Linked DNA regions of Homo sapiens: region 2 is linked to region 1. The links are contacts of gene promoters, found by promoter capture Hi-C in blood cells and fetal thymus (Javierre and others, 2016). All regions are on one chromosome and are shown on one strand. Each heading gives the region's core, a stretch centred on a gene start or on the middle of the fragment in contact. The rest is flanking DNA. Distances are from core to core; before and after follow the strand shown.

Region 1 (5,455 bases), core at 1,650-4,149:
TGACTACATGTGAAGAAATAAAGGCCTTTGTTATTTTAAAGGGCAGGGACAATTGGAAATTTTGCAGCAGATAGTCACAAAATTTTCCACCCTTGGCTCTCCCAAGAAGATACCAGTTAGTGGCTTTGGGAGTTGGGTGTGGAAGGGGTTGCTTAGGAAGCAAAATTAAAATGATCCTGGACAGAATATAAACAGATGTCACTACATTTGTCATAGAACCTAAAACATGATTAGACCCTTACATTGTGAACTTACTTTTTCTGATCTTCTATGACTTGGCTCCTTAAAATCATAGCATTCTATACCAGGCAAGGCTTGGAAAGCCAGAGCTCCCCCTCTCACAGCAAATTCTTATTTTGGAGAATAATTTTGGATTGATTTTTTAAAAATCTTTAAAAACAAAACAATCTGTTTTAAAAATTGGCTTTGCTTCTCTGCTTTTTGGACTTGTCTGCCTGGGACAGAGCAAGAGGACTCACATCTGTAACACTTTCCATCTGGGATGGGTTTTCTGCATCTTAGGCATAGACTGCTTTTCATTCGTCCCTTGTATTTAAGGGTTTTTTTTTTCTAAATTATTATCCCTATTGCCTAACATCGGAGCTGTCTGGGGTTATAATATGGAGAGTAGAAGCTCATCAGCTAAATTGGTTTTAGTTGCAGTTGAGACAGTATTTTATCCTGTCAGTTTTCATTTTATTTGATGACAGTGCTTGGTATTTCTTCCTCAATAAGCAAAGATGACTTAGATCAGTGGCCTGATGAATAAGCATGAAATTTTGATTTAGAAAAGGAGGATATCCTGAAGCTCATGGAGAGAAAAAAGGAATCTAACCCCCCACCACACATACTTTAAATGACAAAGCAAAGCAGCAGCATTGTCTTTAAGCAACATATTTCAACCGAAGATCAACACTCCCCGATGTTAGGTAATAGAAATAATAATTTAGAAAGAAAAGGGGGGCCCTTTTAAAAACACAAAGAAGGAATGAAACATTTTTAAAGCAGGTATCGTATTACCTTCAGCACATGTCCCAAAGAAAAGGAAAAAAAGGGTGGGGGGGTCCGGGAGGGAGGGCGAAACTGATGCTTGGGAGGAAGAAGGCGACTCCCGCTGAGGGCCGGATGGAGGATGTGATCAGTCTAACACTCTGCCTTGGCCCAAAGGCTTCCTTCCGCCCTTTCGACCTATTAACAGGAGTGGGGAAGGACAAAGAACCGTGAATCGGAAAGAACGATTCCCAGCAATCTTCAGTGATCGAAAATAAATAAAGAAAAACAGAGAAAGCCAAAGTCTCCCATGGAAGGGAACCCAATTAATTGTCTTCGATTTCAGAATGAGTTTTTTTCCTGCTGTAGAAGAAGCGCACGGGAGGCAGCAGAGACAGCAACTTCTGCCAAGGTTCAACCTGATCAGAAATCGCTCAGAGCTCCAGCACCCGGGACTGAGGCAGAAGGGCTCCGCCAGGAATAACGTTTTTTAAAGCACAGGATTGCTGTGTGTGTGTGTGTGTGTGTGTGTGTGTGAGAGAGAGAGAGAGAGAGACAGAGGAAAGAGGAGGAGGAGGAGAGATTGATTGATTGATTTTTTTCTTTTCCTTCTCAACATGTCACTTTCCTGCATGGGAATTCCTGATATTCCTGGCAGCCCGGAGAGAGGGGAGAGGCCCCCTGGTGACTTATGACCCCCGCAGGAGTAACCAGAGAGCGCGCGCGAGCGCCCAGCGCCTGGCTCAAGACGAAGATTTAACCGAGAACAAAAGAACGTTTGCCAATCAGAAAACGCTACCCGAGAACGAGGATAACCCCGCTTTGTGTTTTGAAAACTCTTTAATTAGCCTGGTTTCTAAGACGCATTAAAACATTCCTACGCAGATTCTAAATGGAGGATCAAATGGTTGCTTCTGCAACGAAGATGGGATCCCGAAAGGGCACACGCCGCAGAACCAAGGCACACGGGGCCACTGAGACGCCCGGCGCGTCGTACAGAGTGTTCCTGGGCGCTCGGTCTCAGGTTACTTCTAGAACCAGTCTCCCCAACGCCGTCTTCGTTTCCTTAAAACCTCGCTAGAGTCACCCCAGTTCCCCAGACTCCAGGCCGTGCGCGCGGGCGGGGTGGCCTGAGCCCGGGTTCCCCGCTCTCCCTGCTTCGGGCCCTTCCTCCGAGGGGTCCTTCCTCCCGCCGTCACTCGGCCCCCTCCGCCCGACTCGGGTTTCTCCTCGGAGGCGGCCCCTCCTCCTTTTTATAACTCGGGGGAGGGGAGAGGGGACTGTGGCCTCGCGTGGACTCTTTGGGTCCGGGGGGAAAGAGGCGATCCGCAAGGCGCACCCCCTTCTCGTCCCGTCCCAAACCCCACATTGAGGACCCGGCGACCCGAAAGCCCCGCCAGAGCCAGCCTTTGCAGTCCTAACGCGACTCCTGGTCACGTCTCTCCCCGAAGGGGCGCTGCGCGGTCCTCGCTCCCCTCAAACGCCGCTGGCGAAGGCGCCCCTGCTCAGGAATGCGCATCTGAGTGCACCAGGAAGAGGAACAAATCTTTGAAGCAAATTCCCTTTCTGCGCGTTTTCGTCCCTGAGCGAATTCAGGGTAAAAGTTTTTCCGAACTTTTCCCTCCCAGTCCCCCGCCCCTCCCCTCAGGAATCCGCCCAGAGCGCCGCGGACACCGCCTCCGCCACTCCCGCGCCCGCCCCTTCCGACTTCCGCCCAATCCGAAGGCGGCCACCGAAAAAACAAAGGCCGCCATTGGGCCGCCGGGGCCTGGGGCCGCCCCCGGAGTGGTTTGTGAATGGGGGGGGAGGGGAGGGGAGGGGAGGGGACGGGAGGGGACGGGAGGGGGCGGGCCGGCCCGGAACCCCGCGAGCCCGACGCTTCTTCTGGCGACCAGCGCGACTCCGAGGCGTTAGTCGGCGCTCACTCCCGGCGGGCGGCGGCGGCGGCGGCGGCGGCGGGCGCCAGGACTCGCTGCTGGGGCTGCGAGGGGCTGGAGGGGCCGGGGCCAGGCCGCGGGCACGAGCGCCTCGCGGTTTCGGACGCAGTGTGACTGGGTTTCCAAAAAGAACTCGCCGTGCTCCCGACTCCGGGGCCGAGATCGGACTCAGCAAGAGCCGGCCGTTTGGCTGAAACTTGGGGCCGAGCTTTTGGGGCTGAAGAAGGAGCGGGGTGTGGAGGAGGAGGCGAAGGAGGCGGCGACGAGCGGAGCCTCGAGGCCAGGAGGCGGGGCAGCACCGCGGAGGCGGCGGCCGGGGCGAGCGAGCGGCGGCGGCAGGGGTTCTCCTAGCGGGGACCGGACCAGGCGCGGGGGGCGTGCGCGCTGCGGTGCGCCGGGGGTCCAGAGTCTTGGGCAAACTTTGAAGGGTGCCGGAGCCGCTTGTTGCTCCTCGCGGCGGAGGGAGCCGCACCGTTACGTCCCCGCGGGGAGAGCGAGGCGGCCCTCCTCGGCGCCCCCAACCCAGGCTGACGAGTTTTGGGCCCCCGGCGGCCCTGCGAGTGCAGGGCGGCGGCGTCTGCGGCGCCTTCGCGGCGCGGGCACCCAGGCGGCAGCGCCCTTTGCTCCACGCCGCCCACGGCCCGGCCCCGGCGCCGTGAGGACTCTCATGCGTCGGGCGCGGCGGCGCCTCCCCGCATCCAAGCCTCTCCCAACCGCCTCGTCGCACTCCTCAGGCTGAGAGCACCGCTGCACTCGCGGCCGGCGATGCGGGACCCCGGCGCGGCCGCTCCGCTTTCGTCCCTGGGCCTCTGTGCCCTGGTGCTGGCGCTGCTGGGCGCACTGTCCGCGGGCGCCGGGGCGCAGCCGTACCACGGAGAGAAGGGCATCTCCGTGCCGGACCACGGCTTCTGCCAGCCCATCTCCATCCCGCTGTGCACGGACATCGCCTACAACCAGACCATCCTGCCCAACCTGCTGGGCCACACGAACCAAGAGGACGCGGGCCTCGAGGTGCACCAGTTCTACCCGCTGGTGAAGGTGCAGTGTTCTCCCGAACTCCGCTTTTTCTTATGCTCCATGTATGCGCCCGTGTGCACCGTGCTCGATCAGGCCATCCCGCCGTGTCGTTCTCTGTGCGAGCGCGCCCGCCAGGGCTGCGAGGCGCTCATGAACAAGTTCGGCTTCCAGTGGCCCGAGCGGCTGCGCTGCGAGAACTTCCCGGTGCACGGTGCGGGCGAGATCTGCGTGGGCCAGAACACGTCGGACGGCTCCGGGGGCCCAGGCGGCGGCCCCACTGCCTACCCTACCGCGCCCTACCTGCCGGACCTGCCCTTCACCGCGCTGCCCCCGGGGGCCTCAGATGGCAGGGGGCGTCCCGCCTTCCCCTTCTCATGCCCCCGTCAGCTCAAGGTGCCCCCGTACCTGGGCTACCGCTTCCTGGGTGAGCGCGATTGTGGCGCCCCGTGCGAACCGGGCCGTGCCAACGGCCTGATGTACTTTAAGGAGGAGGAGAGGCGCTTCGCCCGCCTCTGGGTGGGCGTGTGGTCCGTGCTGTGCTGCGCCTCGACGCTCTTTACCGTTCTCACCTACCTGGTGGACATGCGGCGCTTCAGCTACCCAGAGCGGCCCATCATCTTCCTGTCGGGCTGCTACTTCATGGTGGCCGTGGCGCACGTGGCCGGCTTCCTTCTAGAGGACCGCGCCGTGTGCGTGGAGCGCTTCTCGGACGATGGCTACCGCACGGTGGCGCAGGGCACCAAGAAGGAGGGCTGCACCATCCTCTTCATGGTGCTCTACTTCTTCGGCATGGCCAGCTCCATCTGGTGGGTCATTCTGTCTCTCACTTGGTTCCTGGCGGCCGGCATGAAGTGGGGCCACGAGGCCATCGAGGCCAACTCGCAGTACTTCCACCTGGCCGCGTGGGCCGTGCCCGCCGTCAAGACCATCACTATCCTGGCCATGGGCCAGGTAGACGGGGACCTGCTGAGCGGGGTGTGCTACGTTGGCCTCTCCAGTGTGGACGCGCTGCGGGGCTTCGTGCTGGCGCCTCTGTTCGTCTACCTCTTCATAGGCACGTCCTTCTTGCTGGCCGGCTTCGTGTCCCTCTTCCGTATCCGCACCATCATGAAACACGACGGCACCAAGACCGAGAAGCTGGAGAAGCTCATGGTGCGCATCGGCGTCTTCAGCGTGCTCTACACAGTGCCCGCCACCATCGTCCTGGCCTGCTACTTCTACGAGCAGGCCTTCCGCGAGCACTGGGAGCGCACCTGGCTCCTGCAGACGTGCAAGAGCTATGCCGTGCCCTGCCCGCCCGGCCACTTCCCGCCCATGAGCCCCGACTTCACCGTCTTCATGATCAAGTACCTGATGACCATGATCGTCGGCATCACCACTGGCTTCTGGATCTGGTCGGGCAAGACCCTGCAGTCGTGGCGCCGCTTCTACCACAGACTTAGCCACAGCAGCAAGGGGGAGACTGCGGTATGAGCCCCGGCCCCTCCCCACCTTTCCCACCCCAGCCCTCT
Region 2 (5,455 bases), core at 917-3,416, 260 kb before region 1:
TCTCAATTACCGGTTTAAAATAGTAAAACAACAGTAATAATTGTAGTTATAAGAGTAATGTTAATCAGTGATTAGAATGACAAGACATTCAGATAGAAAGGCAATAAAAATAATAGGTGAGTAAACTGTATCATAATGCCCTGAATGGAATATAGACATTGAGTGACTTGGATACAAAATTACCATAGATTTCATGTAGCCATTAACACTTCCTTTTTAAAGTCTGAGTTGGTTACATTTTATTACAATGTAGTAGAGTGACAAGTGATTTGGATACAAAATTACCATCAATTTCCTATAGTCATTAACACCTCCTTTTTAAAGTCTGAGTTGGTTACATATTATTACAATGTAGTAAACCAGAGTTTACACTTTGCAGTAAACAATAACAGAGTCTGGTATTTTACACATGGTAAATGCTTAATAAATAATTTGCTTTTAGAGGCTAGGTCAATGTTTACACATGGATTATGGTAACCTTTGACTCAAACACCTGACTTACAAATAATCTATACACCAACAACAACTGCTACTTCCTGGATATCCTGCCACTGAAGCCTTCCCAACCACTGTGGAAGGCTGAGGAAAACTCACCTTGCACTGAAGCCTTGGCCAACTAACCACCAAGAAGGCCACTTGGAACCCCACGCCTCTCAGCCTTAACTGCTGCACAGAAAGCATTGCCTGATACCAGTATGGGAGCCAATGAGCCTTCAAATCTTGACTCAGAGTAAGAGAATTCAGTAAATTAAGGCATTGGATATATTCGGTAGGCTGGCCTAGAAAGCTACTTATTAGTTATAATGTTGTTACTAATAGGATATGCACTAAGTCACTGATTCAAAATATATTTTAAGCTCCTGGAGGTCAGAGACTATGACTTATTCACCGGTATACTCTTGTACCCATAATAATCATTCTGAACAAGCTGGTTACATTTAAGTGAGTGCTTGAGTGAAAGATACAGCCCCTGATTTTCAGTTGCAATCCACAGACTTCCACGCTATAGATTTCTAGTGCCTGTAATAAAAGTCAGTAACAGATACAAAAGAAAAAAGTGTCTTCTCCTAATAGAAACTCTCATATATAATTTGCTAAAGGTATATCCTAACAATGAAGACACTTTTATCTCATGTCACTTTAAAAATGGTTAAACAACTCAGAGAAGTGTTCCTTTCTCCCTTTCTCCTTAGTACACAGACAGCTTTTGGTGCAATGAGAAACAGGAAGACTTTACAGTCTTTTTTTAATGCCTTGCTAATTTCATGCTGAAACTTACTGAAACTACACTCTCCTGGTTATGACGATCCTCTAATCGGAAATTATTCATGGTGGAGTGGGGGGAAAGTGTGTAAACATGGTACAATAAGTTCCCAGCAATGCCCATTTAGCTCTTTTTTGTACCCACTGCATATTTTAAACACATTTTTCAGGATTATTAAATAATAATCCCATGATGCATTGTGATGAATATTATAATACTAACAAATGAATTTCAAATTCCCAGGTACTGCCACTATTTGTGCCTGTTATTACATGGTACAGTGAATGTCCTGGTAAGTCCTGACACAAACTACTTATTCCGTTAATATTTGCAACTACTCTCTTATTAAAATGGCCACAATTTTTTCAAAGGCAATATTAGATTTACAGTTCAAAGTATGATGACTTCTTTCACCAACTGATAACAGTGCTTAGGATCATTCAGGGGCCACATAACTAAACAGGAAATACACATACTAAAAAATATTATTCTCGTGATACAAGTTTCACTTGCTTTAATAGTGCTAGTAGCAGGTTCTCTTTATTAGAAATAAAAATATTGTTTAACTCACAAGTTTAAATACTGAGGTTACATTAGGGATCAGCTACTAAACGTATTATTCATTAGTCAACCATTTAACACATTGTCATCAGGTTACTTACTAATATCTATAGAGACAACTATTTTCTTTGAGCAACAACTGGGATACTTGCATTCAAGGTATAAACTCAAGATAACTACGTTGTAATAAAATGTAACCAAGTTAAGCTTTTCAAAGTGTTAATGCTAATACTACACAAATCTGTAGTAATTTTGTATCTGAGTCACAACATGTCCAAATTCCTTTGAGGGCCTTATTATACAACTTGCTCCCCTATACTTCCAGAGTTCATGATTGGTATATGCCTACATTTCCCAAGCATCTCTAGAATGTTAATTCCCCTGCAGGCTTCATGTCCTAAAGAAAGCATTTTCCCAGGAGCACAAACAGCAAAGCAAAACTGACCAAATAATTGGTCTGTCTCCTCTCCTTAGAAAAGCTTTACATAGTGGAGCTGCACTGGCACATTCCTTTCTTATTGCAGGGAAAGAAGAGTTCTTTTTCCACAGTCTCCTAATTTGAGGGTACAAAGTAAAATAAAGCAAACATATTGGGAAACAGTCCTGATTATAAATAAAAATGTTAAAGTGCTAGTTTCACAAACTATCTTAACTATACATAAAACTGTAAAAATAAATAACAAATCTATGTACTCATCATCCAGTTTTAACACATATTAACATATTTTCATATTGGCTTCAGCTCTTTTTTAAAACACAAGAAAAAATAAGTTACAGAGGTGAAGAAACTCCACTCAGAATTAGTTACTATTTCTAAAGTTAATGTATCCCATTCCCACGTTTTCATATTTACTTTTATGTACTTTCATTAGATATACACATATCAATAAATAATGCATGCTATTATGTTGCTTTCAAAGTGTACACAAATGCATCTTACTGTATAAATCCTTTAGCATTTTGCTTTTTTCACCCAGTATTACATACTTGAGATGTATATATGTTGGTAAGTATAGATCTAGCTCATTCATTTTTATGAGAAGATAGTATTGAATTGCATGAATAAACCAGTTTATCCATTTCCCCACTAATCTTTACAGTTGGATTGCTCTACTTTATTGCTCTTTTAAAGAGCTGCTATAATCATCCTTGTTATATGTTTGCTTAGCCAATTGCCCCAAGTTTAGTTAAGATCTTGGCTCTACAAAAATTTAGGCTGTGGAAGAAAAAAAAATCCTGGAGTGAATGTTAGCCCACCCAAATGCCATTATTGGGTCTAAACCACTCCCTTCCTGATAGGGAGGCCATGTGAACTGAAGAACTGTGTGATGACTCAAAAGAAAAATATTTAAAATGTGATAATTAAGGGAAACATGAGATGATCAATTTGTGGAATTAATGAGATGAAAGCTGATCTTCTCTCTGGACATAATTCACTAGCAGCTAAGCGAAACTCTGCCAACAAACCCCAGTCTTTTTCTCATAGGTATTGAGAAAACTGTAAATTTTCTTCAAATTTGAAAGAAATATACAATAGCTCCAAAAACTACCAATTTAAATATTTTTTCCTCTACCCACCTGGATCAATCAGTTCAGCTACATGCAGGCAAACATCAAGACATAAGCTAAAGAAAGCACCATCACATATACAGATGAATAAGAGACAGGGAAAGGAAAATTAAATGCAATATGAAAAAGAAACAAGCCAGAGATTGTTGCTATTTTATTGATGACTACCTAACATTTTCTTAAGGACTGACACCCTACAAAACCGAGTACTTTCTTATTACAGACAACAAAATTGTTTGGTCATCAATGAAGGGTTAAGAGAAAAAAATCTGTTAAAACTCTCTACCAGGAAAATTCATATCCTGAATACACTTGAAATACGTGGTAGATTTAATTCCACAAAGTTATAAAAAGAGCTAAATGATTTAAAAGTCACAAATCCTCACAGCATGCCTCTGAGTGAGAAAGGTACCTCATAGTACCCAAAGCGGGCCTTCCTTTATACAAGCTTAAAAATCACCACTCTGCCTTTCTTCCTAGTTTTTCAACTCATACTTTACCTAGTCTCACATTAATAAATAATTGTAGATTTTTACAAGTCAGTCACATTTTTGAGATTATCATTAGAATGGACCCAGCAGCTACTGCTTTAAACCCAGTTTTCATGAAAAGGTAGGAGATTCCACCTAATTACAAAAACACTAACATCAAGACTCATTGAAGTTCTTAGCATACCCTTTGCTTCTTTAACAGTCAAAGTGCCCAAAGTAAGTGTTTCAAATGACAGCCCAAATTCTGAAAAACTGAAATTTGGAGAGAAGGGATTCCTGTTTATATTGAGTACATTTAAAAAGTAAATGGCCTGCATAATGCCACTCAAGTTTTGTTTTTTTCCCAAAATTATCGGTTTGGTATTTCATTTTTCTGGATCATTACAGTTTCAAATTTTAACACTGTTAAACAACTTTGACGTTTTCTTGCTATAATTATGAATTTTAAATCTGCTAATACTGGTCATAGTTTAGAAACTAATAAATTCAAACCATGTATAGATTCTGTCAGTATCTTTTTCACATTAAAATGTCCTTATGGAACACCAAAATTACTACAGAACAACTTGAAATCATATTTTATAGCTACTTCCTTAAAATATTCAGTTCCCTTCCCCATCACTTAAGAAAAGAGTCAGTTTGGATCATGATGTAGTGGGAGGAATTAATTATAAAAACAGCTAATATGTATTGAATATTTACCATAAAACAGGCACTGTAATAAATACGATACATGAACCATTACACGTAAAGGTACTGTTATCAGGAAAACATTTTTATCCCCAATTTAGAGACAAGAGAACTGAGGCAGAGAGATTAAATAACTTGCCCAAAATCAAAGATGTAAATGGATGTGACTCTGGGTATGTTCAGATACAAAGCCTAGAATCTTAACCACTATGCTTATGTTATCAAGGTTAAAACACCGTAGTTTACTGCAAAAAATTTTTCACTGCTTTAAATTATTCATTAACTCAAAGGTCAACCGGTCACTCCAAATCATATGATAAATGGGGGGGAAAATGTGGGACCAATAGGTTTGCTGAAGTTTTGTACCTGCTCAGAATAAACATATCACACAATTTTATTCCATATAGCCAAATATAAGGGTAACTGAGTAAAGATCTTCACTTGGGTACAGCAGTCAGTTCCTTCTCCATCCTAAACCAGAAAGAAAGCACTGTTCTTGGATATGCCACTTCAACAAGAGTGTTTTTTCTCTTCCACCATCAAAGCCTTAAGCAATAGAACGATTCTACCAGTCTACTGTTGCCTGTCTCCAAAGCAGCCCTATTATCCGAGGACGAACACCAGCGTCAAGGACCTGTGTTATTTTTCTGGCTTCGCTTCTCAAAATAACTTATCTTCTCCTCTTGATGAATTACTTGATAGGCTCAAAGACTTGCCTAAACTACTAATTCTTATTATCAAAGCTATTTTCTTTCTCCGCAACCGCCTTTTCAAGTAGCCCTTGGTCCACTCTTCAACGCGATTTGCACCCTGTGGCAAGGCCGCCAGGGACACTCAGCAGGGTTCCAGGCCACGGACCCCAGTTTATCAGCTCAGCGCC

Evidence for each region. The method cuts DNA at HindIII sites, captures the fragments that hold promoters and counts their contacts. A CHiCAGO score of 5 or more calls a contact.
Region 2: a fragment that was not itself captured here is called in contact with the fragment with the promoter of FZD7 in region 1 in 1 of 17 cell types (fetal thymus); the score reaches 5.8 in fetal thymus.

What each region holds. Positions count from the first base shown.
Region 1 is chr2:202,030,956-202,036,410 of GRCh38, forward strand. FZD7 (frizzled class receptor 7) reads left to right here and starts at 2,900. Exons shown (of 1, transcript NM_003507.2): 1 at 2,900-5,455. The coding sequence starts at 3,693. The coding sequence ends at 5,417. RefSeq lists silencers at 2,482-3,031, 3,142-3,221 and enhancers at 3,784-4,624, 3,822-3,941. The HindIII fragment of the contact is 9,940 bases long and covers 1-5,455 here.
Region 2 is chr2:201,775,038-201,780,492 of GRCh38, forward strand. The region is part of intron 1 of ALS2 (alsin Rho guanine nucleotide exchange factor ALS2); the gene reads right to left. Among named protein-coding and RNA genes, the nearest start is that of ALS2, 3.2 kb to the right of the region's middle. The HindIII fragment of the contact is 272 bases long and covers 2,031-2,302 here.